4 separate regions of the Homo sapiens genome follow, and all the other regions are linked to region 4. Evidence: promoter capture Hi-C in 16 types of primary human blood cells and fetal thymus (Javierre and others, 2016). All regions are on one chromosome and are shown on one strand. The core of a region is centred on a gene start or on the middle of the fragment in contact, and the rest is flanking DNA. Distances in the headings are between cores, read along the strand shown. Region 1 overlaps VPS53 (VPS53 subunit of GARP complex). Region 2 holds the start of DOC2B (double C2 domain beta). Region 3 overlaps VPS53 (VPS53 subunit of GARP complex). Region 4 holds the start of LIAT1 (ligand of ATE1).

Region 1 (2,700 bases), core at 201-2,700, 130 kb after region 4:
AATGGAGCTGGATGGTCTGTTAAAGAGATCCTAAGCCAAACACAAACCATATAATATGTTCATAGAAGGAAGTCAGTAGTTCTGAGGCCCTGATGTCTCTGGCAAGAAAACACTATTTTTACAGAGCTCTTGGGGAAAGGAAAAAATCAATACTGAGAGAGCTTGTTTAAAAGAATCACATCGTACGTGGATGATTCTCCAGCTGTGGGAAGCTCAAATGACTCCTAATGTTTTTTCAAATCAGCGGATATTTGTATTCTAAAAGCTTTAGGGATGTGTACACACAGAACCACAGAAAAGCAGGAAGGGACCTCCATCTTCATTTCACAGATAAGAAAGCCAAGGCCCAGAAACATGAAGAGTCTTATGCAAGGTTTCATAACCAGGCTCCACACAGGAAAAAGAACTCTAATTTATTACTGGGAAAAAACAGAAACAAACAATGAAGAAACAGTAGAAAGGTCTAATATGAAGTGACTTAACATTCTAATGCTTTGGTTATGTGAAATGTTTTCCTCATTATCTTTTATCTTACGCAAGAGGCTTCTTTTTCCATTTGATTTTGAAGATTTGACCCATCCAAACAATGAGCATCCTGGGTGATTTTAAATGAGCTCATAGGGTGAGGCCAAAATTGACAGGTGCTGTCAGCATTTCCTGGGCTCTGCAGCAGGACTCGGAGCAGAATGTTCTGGGTAGACACAGCGAACTGGGAGGGCTTGATGCCCCCAAAGCCAATCATGTCCATAGCAATGACTGTTACTTTCCAAGCTGGCAGCTTTGTATATTTCAAAATCTCAAAACGGTTTATCAACAATAATCTAAACATGACAGCCCTCCATGAAAGAAGGTGGCGACGTGCTCTGTCACCAGTTACAAAGCAGCTCTGAAGCAAGACCAAGCAGGGGCCTGGGATTTCTTCAACTTCCCACTGGTTATTCCGCATGCTCGTCACCGAACTCCTCTTGATGATCACTGGCCAAGTCAGTATGTGCCCACATTTGGAATATATGTGAAAAGAGCTGATTTGCTTTAATACTCTGGTCAGTCATGACTCCATTGGTCAAGCTAAAAGAAGTATTAGCAAAGGCCAAGTGGATTCATGATTTTAAACTTAAGTCAGCTTAGTCAACTAAGAAAGTGATTTAAAGTACTAGAAAACAATAAAAGGTGACCTTACCTTTAGTATTTTTTAAAAATGTGGCACACGCCTATAGTCTCAGCTACCAGGGAGGCTGAGGCAGGAGGGTCACTGGAGCCCAGAAGGTTGGGGCTGCAGGGAGCTGTGATTGTACCACTGCACTCCAGCCTCAGATGGCTGATGCTTGCCATCATCCCCCATGGGTGACTGAAGGTTTGGGTCACAACCTGAACTGCCCAGGATAGCTACATTAAGACCGAACTTCGCAGGTCCCTTTGCATGGCCCTAAACATACGTCGTCTCATTTACTATTCATACATGATCTCACTAAGTTCTCACAACAACCTTATAGATGAGGAAATTCAAAAAGCTCAAAGAGATTTGGTATCTTGCACAAAATTTCACAGCTGGGACAACCACGTCTATCTAAAGCCCAAACCAGGTCTATCTAAAGCCCAAACCAAGTCTATCTAAAGCCCAAACCCGGTCTATCTAAAGCCCAACCAGGTCTATCTAAAGCCCAAACCCCACAACAAGGTGCTTGCTAGACAACTTCCCCCCCGACCCGCCCCCGCCACCCTGCCCAAAAAAAGAATAAAAGCACTTAACTAGGCCTTCGTTAAAGGTAAGGCCTGTTTCTCAAGGAGACGCTAATGAAACATAGTGATCAAGCAAAGGACTCTTTATTTTTCATTTTTTTTTGAGACAGAGTCTCTGCTGCCCAGGCTGGAGTGCAGTGGTACAATCATAGTTCACTGCAGCCTTGACTTCCTGGGCTCCAGCAATCCTCCCAGCTCTGCCTCCCAAGTAGCTGGGACCACAGGTGTACACTACCATGCTCAGCTAATTAAAAAAATATATTTTTTTCTTTTTTACTTTTTGTAGAGACAGGGGTCTCACCGTGTTGCCCAGACTGGTCTTGAACTCCTGGGTTCAAGCAATCCTCCTGCCTCAGCCTCCCAAAGTGCTGGGATTACAGGTGTGAGCTACCACGCCTGGCCCAAAGAACTCTTTCAAAAAAGGAAACAAACAGTACCTTGCATTGGAAGAACAAACATCATGAAAAGCCATCAGTAGAAATGAGACCTCAACTTTTCCAGGTAAACTTTTCATTTGACATTTAGAAGTTACCCCTCTACACTTAAAATTGTTTCTTGTTGTGCTTTTTGTTTTGGGGGCTTGGGTAGAGTTGAATACAGATGGCGTTCAACTGGTACTACTATCTAAATGAGACACAGTTTGAAGACAGTAAGAATGATGAGTGCCTCCGGGACCTAGTTTAACCACCACAAGAAGAGACTGCAGGGCCCAGAGTGTCCCCAGAGCCCAGCTTCTGCGGCCTGGGCAGGAAGTATGTGCTCTGACTGACGCTCCACAGTGGGGCTGGGGGGTCAGCACTCTTTCTAGAGAGAGTCTACTGTAGCAGGAACTTTGACCAGAGAACAGCGCTCCACAACTAGCTTCAGTGGATCTTGTTTTTTCCTATTGCTATAGGAAGCTTGGAAAGAGGTTTCTTGAAAATGTGAATACTTAAATTCCTACTTCTTCACTGGATTAGA
Region 2 (2,700 bases), core at 51-2,550, 230 kb before region 4:
GCTTGCCTGCTCCCGGGGGCTCAGGGCTCAGTCCGGGAGGAGGGGGAGCGGGCTGGGGGGCCCTCTCTGCCCGGGGGCCGCGGGCGTAACAGGTGGGCGAAGGTGCGCGGCCCTGGCGAGGGCTGCGGCGGGGTCCATGGACACCGGAGGAGGAAACGCCAAGGTTTTTCCAAAGGACAAGCGGCCCCGCGGTCCTCCTGGTCCTCTGCTCGCGCGCCAGCAAAGCAGCTGCGCTCTGCGGGCCGCCGGGACCACGCGGGAGGCCGGGCCGCTCCCAGCCTCGGGCCCCTCCCCAGCTCGCCCCAGCCCCGACCCTCGGCCGCGAGGCCCTCCCGGAGCGGCTGGCGAGCGGGGAGCGACCGCGCGGCCGGCAGCAACTGGTGTCTCCCCGGGACGCAGCTCCGCCCTTCCCGGGAACAAAAGCAGCCGCCCGCGCCGGAGCTCCGGGAGGGCGGGCTGGCAGGGAGGGGGCGCGGCGCCGGCTCCGAGGAACCCGGCCCCGGAAATGGGACACCCCCAGGGGGTGCCCCCGAACTTCCCTCCTGTCCGGCCTGGGTCGGGGGAGGGCTCGAGGCCGGTGGGCAGGGCGCGGAGAGCGCACCGAGTGCGCCAGGGGCCCGCAAGCCCGCGGCGGGGTTGTGAACCGAGGCAGAGCGCGAGCGCGCGAGGGGGACCGGCGGAGGGAAGCCGCGAGGCCGTGGGGGGGCCGAGCCCGAGCCAGGGGAGGGGGCGCGAAGTCGGCGCGTGGGAAACTTACTGCAGTCGTCCGACTCGTAGCCGTCGGCGTCCGGCTCGTCCTCCGGCGGCTTGGCTGGCGGCCGCGCGGGGCTGGGACCCGGGCTGGGGCCCGGGCTGGAGCCGTAGGCTCCGAAGAGCTGGTCCACATCCTCGTCGTCCTCGCGGGCGCCGTCGGAGGGGCTGCGGCGGCCGGCACCGGCCACAGCCGGGCGCGCGGGGGCGTCCGGGGGTGCAGCGGCTCGGGGCCCGGCGTCCGGGGGCAGGCCCCGCGGGAAGCGGGGGAAGTAGTCGGAGATCTGCTTGATGGGACGGATGGGGCCGGGGCACACGTCGATGGCCATATGCTCCTGGATGCTGATGGTCGCCTTCTCCCCGCGCCGCCGGAGGGTCATGCAGGCAGCGCCGCCCCGCCCCGGGCGCGGCCCGGCCCGGCGCGACCCCGGCCCGGGGGCGGCTCAGCAGGCCCGGCGGGGCGCGGCGGGGGCTGCGGGCATCGCCGGCCGCGCCCCCGGACGGCCCTGACTTGGCCGCTGCCCGCTCCGCTGCGGACGGCGCGAGCGAGTGCCAGAGGCCGGCAGGCAGGGGGCGGGCCCAGCCCGCGTCACCCGGCAGCAACCAAGCAGGGTGAGTGTGCGGGCTGCGCGGGCGGCGCGGAGCGGAGGGAGCCGCGCGGCGCCACACTCACTCGCACTCGCACTCACACCGGCGTGCACGCCGGCCCGGGACCCCGCGCGCGCACACTCGCGGCCAGGCAGGGCCGCCGGGCGCCTTCCGCTCATGCACGCCCGCGGCACAAGCTGGGAGTCAACCCGGCAGGGACCCGCAGGACGCGCACCCACACGTTCCCGCGCGTGCCAGCCCACGCTGGGCTCCGCTCGCTCTCTCGGGACACACGCAGGTGTGCAAGTGCACACATGCGTGTGCAGAGACACGTGGTGGAAGCATCCGCTCGCTCACACCGTAGGTCACACACGCAAACGTCTGCATGCGCACATGGTTGTTTTAGGAAGCTGTGACACAGTACACCCCCAATGCACAGGCGCGCACACCTGATGGAGCACACACACAGGTGATCAAGGGCACCCAGGGCACAGGCTTCCCTACCCCCAAGCACCCCTAACAAGATGCACAAACATGAGCCCATAGAAGTGATCAGGGGACCCTGGGCACAACTCCTTCTCTCCTCCCCCTCTAGCAGGACGTGGAGTCACACTCCTAGCATGTAGGGACAGGTTGCCTACACACGGGCAGGACATGTACACGCTCAACTGCACAAGGACACCGGGGCTCAGTCTGTGCACACATATTCTCAGGTCACATACAACACAGCACTCTAACCTCGGGTCAGTCCCTCACTTGGTCAGTGAGTACAGTCTGAAGGACCCCCCGGGGCAGGGTGGCTGAGAACCTGCACAGGGCCTGGTCAGGAGGGAGTGAGGGCAGGGCCTGGGCGGTGAGTGATGCAATAAGGCTGGGCGGCACGCTCCCCCCACCCCCACTCCTACTCTAGGCCTCCCACACGGTCAGATCACTAAACAAATCCCAGAGGGCCCAGCCCTGGCTGTCCGGCTTTCCGGGACCAGAGCTCTGTTGGGAACTGCTGCTGCTTGGACAGGTGTGTTCCCGGAAAGCCCTGGGCATGGATGGAATCCTGTTTACCCTCTGGTTTCCACTGATGTGTAAGACACTTAGCTTCTTAGTGGGTGCCTTTGGTGCATCTGAATGAGGGGCTCCAAGCCTCTCTTGTTCCCCCACCATAACCCCTGCAGAGTGATGGGGAGCAGAGGAAAGAGAGGCAAAGCCTTGGCCTGTGGCTTCCAGCTGCACAGTTCTGGCAGGCTATTTGACCTCTTTGAGCCTCGGTTTCCTCATCTATGAAGTGAGGCTATTTCCAACTGCACAGCCTTGTGGCAAGGCCCCATCCAGCACAGACAGGTAAGAGGTGCTCAGCTGGCTTTCCCT
Region 3 (2,700 bases), core at 161-2,660, 250 kb after region 4:
AAGAAGAAGGGAGAGAAAGAGAGACAAAGAAAGAGAAAGAAAGAAAGAAAGAAAGAGAAAGAAAGAAAAAAAGAAAGAGAAAGAAAGAAAAAAAGAAAGAAAGAGAAAGAGAAAGAAAGGAAGGAAGGAAGGAAGGAAGGAAGGAAGGAAGGAACGAAGGAAGGAAGGAAGGAAGGCAGGCAGGCAGGCAGGCAGGCAGGCAGGCAGAAAGCTAATGGTGGCTCACACCTGTAATCCCAGCACTTCAGAGGCTGAGGCAGGAGGATTGCTTGAGCCCAGGAGTTCAAGACTAGCCTGGGGAACATGGCAAGACTCGGTCTCTGCAAAAAAAAAAGTTAGCCAGGCATGGTGGCGCACACCAGTAGTCTCAGCTACTTGGGAGGCTGAGGTGGGAAGATTACTTGAGCCTGGGAGGTCAAGGCTGCAGTGAACTGTGATCATGCCACTGCACTCCAGCCTGGTGACTGAGCGAGATCTTGTCTCAAAAAAACAAGCAAAAAGCTAATGGTGAGCCCAGCATTTCCACTGAAATAAAAACCTACAAGGACAGATGCTACACAATGAAAGTATTACAACACAGCTGCAGCTTCTGCTAGGAGGGGAAGCAACATGAGGGCAGTTGTGACATGTGGAGACCAGAAAGTTCCTGTGAGTGCCAGCAGGCCACAGACGTGTACAGACCAAATGCACTGGACCGTCCGTGAGTAAAGACTACCCACAGCTAAAGTACCTGTGAGTGCCAGCAGCCCACAGACGTGTATCGACCACATGCACTGGACCATCCGTGAGTAAAGACTACCTACAGCTAAAGTACCTGTGAGTGCCAGCAGCCCACAGACGTGTATAGACCACAGGCACTGGACCGTCCGTGAGTAAAGACTACCTACAGCTAAAGTGTCTGTGAGCGTGTCAGCAGGCCACGGATGTGTATAGACCACATGCACTGGACTGTCCGTGACTAAAGACTATGAATTCCTGAGGCAGTTATAGTTCTAGGCACGAGTCAGCATCTCCTTAATTCACTCCTTCAATCACTCAATGAGTATTTACTGAATGCCTCCCATATACCAGGCATGATTCTAGGCATTGGGAATCCAATGGTAAACAAGACAGTATGGTCTCTCTCTCTGTCCTCAAGGAATGAACTTACTTTGAGAAGTAAGGGGGAGGAGATCCTGGAAAAACAACAAAATAAAGAAACAAGATAATTCCTAAGTGTGGTGAATTGACAGGTGTGGTGAAGGACTTATGCAGTGATGAGAATAAGGGAGATGGTGGTCACAGAAGGTCTCCTGAGAAAGGGCACACAAATCGGGACCTGCAGGATGAGGAGGTGTGAGAATTTGTAGATTTGGAGTAAGATGATTTTTTTTTTCTTGAGATGGAGTCTCACTCTGTTGCCCAGGCTAGAGTTAAGTGGCGTGATCTCAGCTCACTGCAACCTCTGCCTCCCAGGTTCAAGCAATTCTCCTGCCTCAGCCTCCCGAGTAGCTGGGACTACAGGCACCTGCCACCACACCTGGCTAATTTTTTGTATTTTTAGTAGAGACGGGGTTTCACCGTGTTGGCCAGGATGGTCTCGATCTCCTGACCTCGTGATCTGCCCGCCTCGGCCTCCCAAAGTGCTGGGATTACAGACGTGAGCCGCCGCGCCCAGCCTGGAGTAAGAGGATTTTCAGCAGAGAGAAAAGCAAATGTGAAGATCCTGACAGAGAAAAGACCTCGGTGTTTTGGAGGTCCGAAAAGACAGACAGTAGGTGGTAGTGCAATATTGCAGCGGGAAGTGTCTGGAAATAATCTGGAGAGGTGGGCACGAGCCAGAGCACGGAGGCCTCAAAGCATAAGGATTCTGCTCTAAGTGCCAATGAGAAGCCACTGAAGGGTCTAAACAAGGGACAGATGTATGGCTTACTTGTATAAGACTGTCCTGGCTGCTGTGTGGCAAAGGGGCTGTGCAGGGGCAGGAGGGAAAGCGGGAGTGAAAGCTCTGTGAGAAGTTGCTGCAGTGTCCACGAGACGGTGGAGGCCTAGAAGAGGCAGCCGGTGCTGACGGGAAGACGCCGAGCGATTCAGGGTTTCCAGGAAGGTACAATGTGTAGGACTCACTGATGGACTGTGTGTGGGTGATGAGGGAGAGGGAGAACCAAGGATGACGCCCGGGTTTTGGTTGAAAAGCCAAGGCCAGGGTTCACTGTCTGAACCAGGGAATGCAGGAGGAGGACGGGCTTGACAGGCAGGTGTGTGTGGTGGTGGCGGGGCTGGAAGTGAAGAGTCCCATCTGCAATACGTTACGGGTGCCTGTGCTATGGCTGGAATGCATCCCCAAAGTTCATGTGTTGGAAACATAATCCCCAATGCAATGGTGTTGGCAGGTGGGGCCTTTACGAGGTGACCAGGTCATGAGGGGTTTGCCCTCACGAACAAATGAATGGCATTATCTCGGGAGTGGGTTCTTGATAAAAGGATCTGTTCAGCCACTTTCTCGTGCATGCACACACTTTCTTGCCTTCCAACTCTGCCATGGGACGACGCAGTGAGAAGGCCCTCGCCGCAGGACGACATGGTGAGAAGGCGCTCGCCGCGGGACGACGCAGTGAGAAAGCCCTCGCCGCGGGAAGATGCGGTAAGAAGCCCTTGCCTGATGTGGGCCCCTTGACCTTGGACTTCCCAGCCTCCAGAATTATAAGAAATCTCTTTTCT
Region 4 (2,700 bases), core at 48-2,547:
AAGAGAGAGAAAGTCTTGCTTTGTTACCCAGGCTGGACAGCAGTGGTGCGATCTCGGCTCACTGCAGGCTCAAGTTCCTCCACAAGTGCCCCTCAGCGCAGCTGGTTAATTTTTTGTAGAGATGGGGTCTCACTACGTTGCCCAGAATGGGCTCAAGCGATCCACCCACCTTGACCTCCCAAAGTGTTGGGACTACGGGTGTCAGCCCTGCACAGAGCCCCACAAGAGTTTAGATCTTGATGTAAATTGTGATGAGGAAGCAATGGAGGACTTTTTGGCTTTTTATGTTTTGTTTTTCATCACTGGAGACTTTTAGCAAGAGAGTGAACGGTTTGGTTGTTTTTAAAAGTTTGTTCTAGCAGCTGTGCGGAAAAAGAGTTCGTGGGGAAGGTTTGAAAGCAGAGACCATTCAGGAGAGGACCCAGAAGTCCCAGTGCCAGACACGGCAGTCGGCCCCAGCCTGGGTAAGGGACAAGGGAGAGGGTAGGGGACACGGAAGCCCACCAGGTTTCCAGCCAGTCCAGCGGTTTTGTTCACTAAAGTGGAAAACCATGAAGAAGTAAGTTTGTTTTGGACACATTGGCTTTGAGAGTCCAGGGTAGATGTACGAGGCTGAAACTCAGGCAATAAAAATTGAGGGGAGAATACACAGCATTTAAAAAGGTACAGGAGGCCGAGCACGGAGGCTCATGCCTGTGATCCCAGCGATCTAGGAGGCCGAGGCGGGAAGATCGATGGAGCCCAGGAGTTCGAGACCAGCCTGAAACCAAAAATCAAAACTCTTAGCCAGGCGTGGGGATGGGAGGCCAAGGCAGGAGGATCGAGGCACGGGACTGGACGAGATGAGTGTCAGCCCAGGGATTTAAAATCTCTCTGCCCACCCTCCCCTTCCTGCGGTCAACTGTCCAGATTCCAACAGACAAAAGCAAGCATGGGCGAACCACCGTGCGCCGCGGTCCCCGACAGAAGCACGCATGCGCACACCTCTGTGTGCGGAGGTTTCCGACAGACGCACGCATGCGCACACTTCTATGCGCGGAGGTCTCCGCAGACAGAAGCACGCATGCGCACATCGCTGTGCCGGTATCGCCAACAGATGGAAGCACGCATGCGCGCACCGCTGCGTACCTAGCACTCCGACAGATGTACGCATGCGCACAACGCTCTGTTCTCGAGATCCCCGACAGAAGCACACATGCGCACACCGCTGTGTGCCAAGGTCGCCAAAAGACGGAAGCACGCATGCGCACACCGCGGTCCGTGGGGCACCGGGCGGAAGCGTCCTGACTGCGCAGGCGCAGCAGGGGTGGTCGCCATGGAGACGCGTGGCCCTGGCCTGGCGGTCCGCGCTGAGAGTCGCCGATTAGTCGGCATCGGGCCTCGGGCGCCCCCGGGGCGGGTTGGGTTGCAGCCCAGCGGGCGGCTGGACCGCCGCGGTGGGGCGGGGACAATGGGGTACAAGGACAACGACGGCGAGGAGGAGGAGCGGGAGGGCGGCGCCGCGGGCCCGCGGGGGTCTAGACTGCCCCCCATCACAGGCGGCGCCTCCGAGCTGGCCAAACGGAAGGTGAAGAAGAAAAAAAGGAAGAAGAAGACCAAGGGGTCTGGCAAGGGGGACGGTAAGAGGAGCAGCTAGCCCGGCTGCGTCAGCTCCGGTTCCCTGGAGACTCTTTGGGGACCCACCCCCCATTTACCCTTCAGACCGGAAACAGAAGCTCAGTGGTCCCGGACCGAGGTCCTCCTGCTCCCCACACATGCCCGTCAGCAGCACGTTGATGCCCCAGCCCCACCCGTGGAGACCATCCACCAACTCTGCGGTCCCTTAGCCCCACACAGAGACCCCTACAGATATCCACCATTCCTAAGAGCCTTCCAGCCCCACACAAAGACACCCTCTCAACTTCCTAATCCCTCAGCCAAAACTGGCAGTCTTAAACGTCTGCGCCTTCCCCACAGAGGCCCTCCTCACAAGACACTTTCCCCACCCCAAACACATTGATGCCACATGAAAGGCCCTCACTCTCATGCACAGAGAAGGGCAGACTCCTGCCTCCCCTCCTCCCACCCTCTTGCGTTAAGGCTGCCTGCCTGTGGATGCGCGGTAGACACCCACACCCACAGACGTGTGTATTAAAGGTCCTCGCTGCATGGGCTCCCCCTCGCACCCACCAAGGGGCAGCCTTGGACTGCACAAACCCCATGACACCAGTCACTGTGACATCCTCCTATAATCCCTGACACCCTCAACCACTCCCCGCTTCATATCAGTGTAACACCCACAGTGAAACTAAAGGGCGGGGGACACCCTCAACCACTCCCCCCACCTTCTATCAATGTAACACCAACAGTGAAACTAAAGGGCGGGACGCAGTGGCTCACACCTGTAATCCGAGCACTTTGGGAGGCCGAGGTGGGAGGATCACTTGAACCCAGGACTTCCAGGCTGCAGTGAGCTATGATCGCACCATTGCACTCCAGCCTGGGCAACAAGCAAGACCCTGTCTCTCAAAAAAACAAACAAGAAAACTAAAGCACAGATCCCCCTCATGCACACACATTCCTAGTCTACACACACAGACTGTTAATACGTTATCCATTCGCGTGTGTAGTCATATGCAGGCAGGAATTGCAGTCTCTCTCAGGGACACCTTCACAAACACACATACCCTACCTGCCATAAACCCCAGTCCCTACATCTCA

What was found. The method cuts DNA at HindIII sites, captures the fragments that hold promoters and counts their contacts. A CHiCAGO score of 5 or more calls a contact.
Region 1: a contact is called between a fragment that was not itself captured here and the fragment with the promoter of LIAT1 in region 4, in 12 of 17 cell types (megakaryocytes, non-activated CD4 T cells, naive CD8 T cells and 9 more). The highest score is 12.9, in megakaryocytes.
Region 2: the fragment with the promoter of DOC2B here is called in contact with the fragment with the promoter of LIAT1 in region 4 in 2 of 17 cell types (M2 macrophages and endothelial precursors); the score reaches 5.6 in M2 macrophages.
Region 3: a fragment that was not itself captured here is called in contact with the fragment with the promoter of LIAT1 in region 4 in 14 of 17 cell types (M1 macrophages, M0 macrophages, M2 macrophages and 11 more); the score reaches 13.6 in M1 macrophages.

Annotation. Positions count from the first base shown.
Region 1 is chr17:538,363-541,062 of GRCh38, forward strand. All of the region lies in intron 17 of VPS53 (VPS53 subunit of GARP complex), which reads right to left. VPS53-AS1 (VPS53 antisense RNA 1) reads left to right here. Exons shown (of 3, transcript XR_007065570.1): 2 at 2,027-2,241. Among named protein-coding and RNA genes, the nearest start is that of VPS53-AS1, 17 kb to the left of the region's middle. The HindIII fragment of the contact is 2,374 bases long and covers 264-2,637 here.
Region 2 is chr17:180,350-183,049 of GRCh38, forward strand. It overlaps DOC2B (double C2 domain beta), which reads right to left and starts at 1,301. Exons shown (of 9, transcript NM_003585.5): 1 at 758-1,301. The coding sequence starts at 1,130. RefSeq lists enhancers at 1-223, 1,685-2,186. The HindIII fragment of the contact is 7,942 bases long and covers 1-2,700 here.
Region 3 is chr17:662,719-665,418 of GRCh38, forward strand. All of the region lies in intron 4 of VPS53 (VPS53 subunit of GARP complex), which reads right to left. Among named protein-coding and RNA genes, the nearest start is that of VPS53, 51 kb to the right of the region's middle. The HindIII fragment of the contact is 6,306 bases long and covers 1-2,700 here.
Region 4 is chr17:409,028-411,727 of GRCh38, forward strand. LIAT1 (ligand of ATE1) reads left to right here and starts at 1,298. Exons shown (of 2, transcript NM_001013672.5): 1 at 1,298-1,619. The coding sequence starts at 1,316. The region is part of intron 2 of LOC105371430 (a long non-coding RNA gene); the gene reads right to left. RefSeq lists a silencer at 1,350-1,439. The HindIII fragment of the contact is 6,027 bases long and covers 1-2,700 here.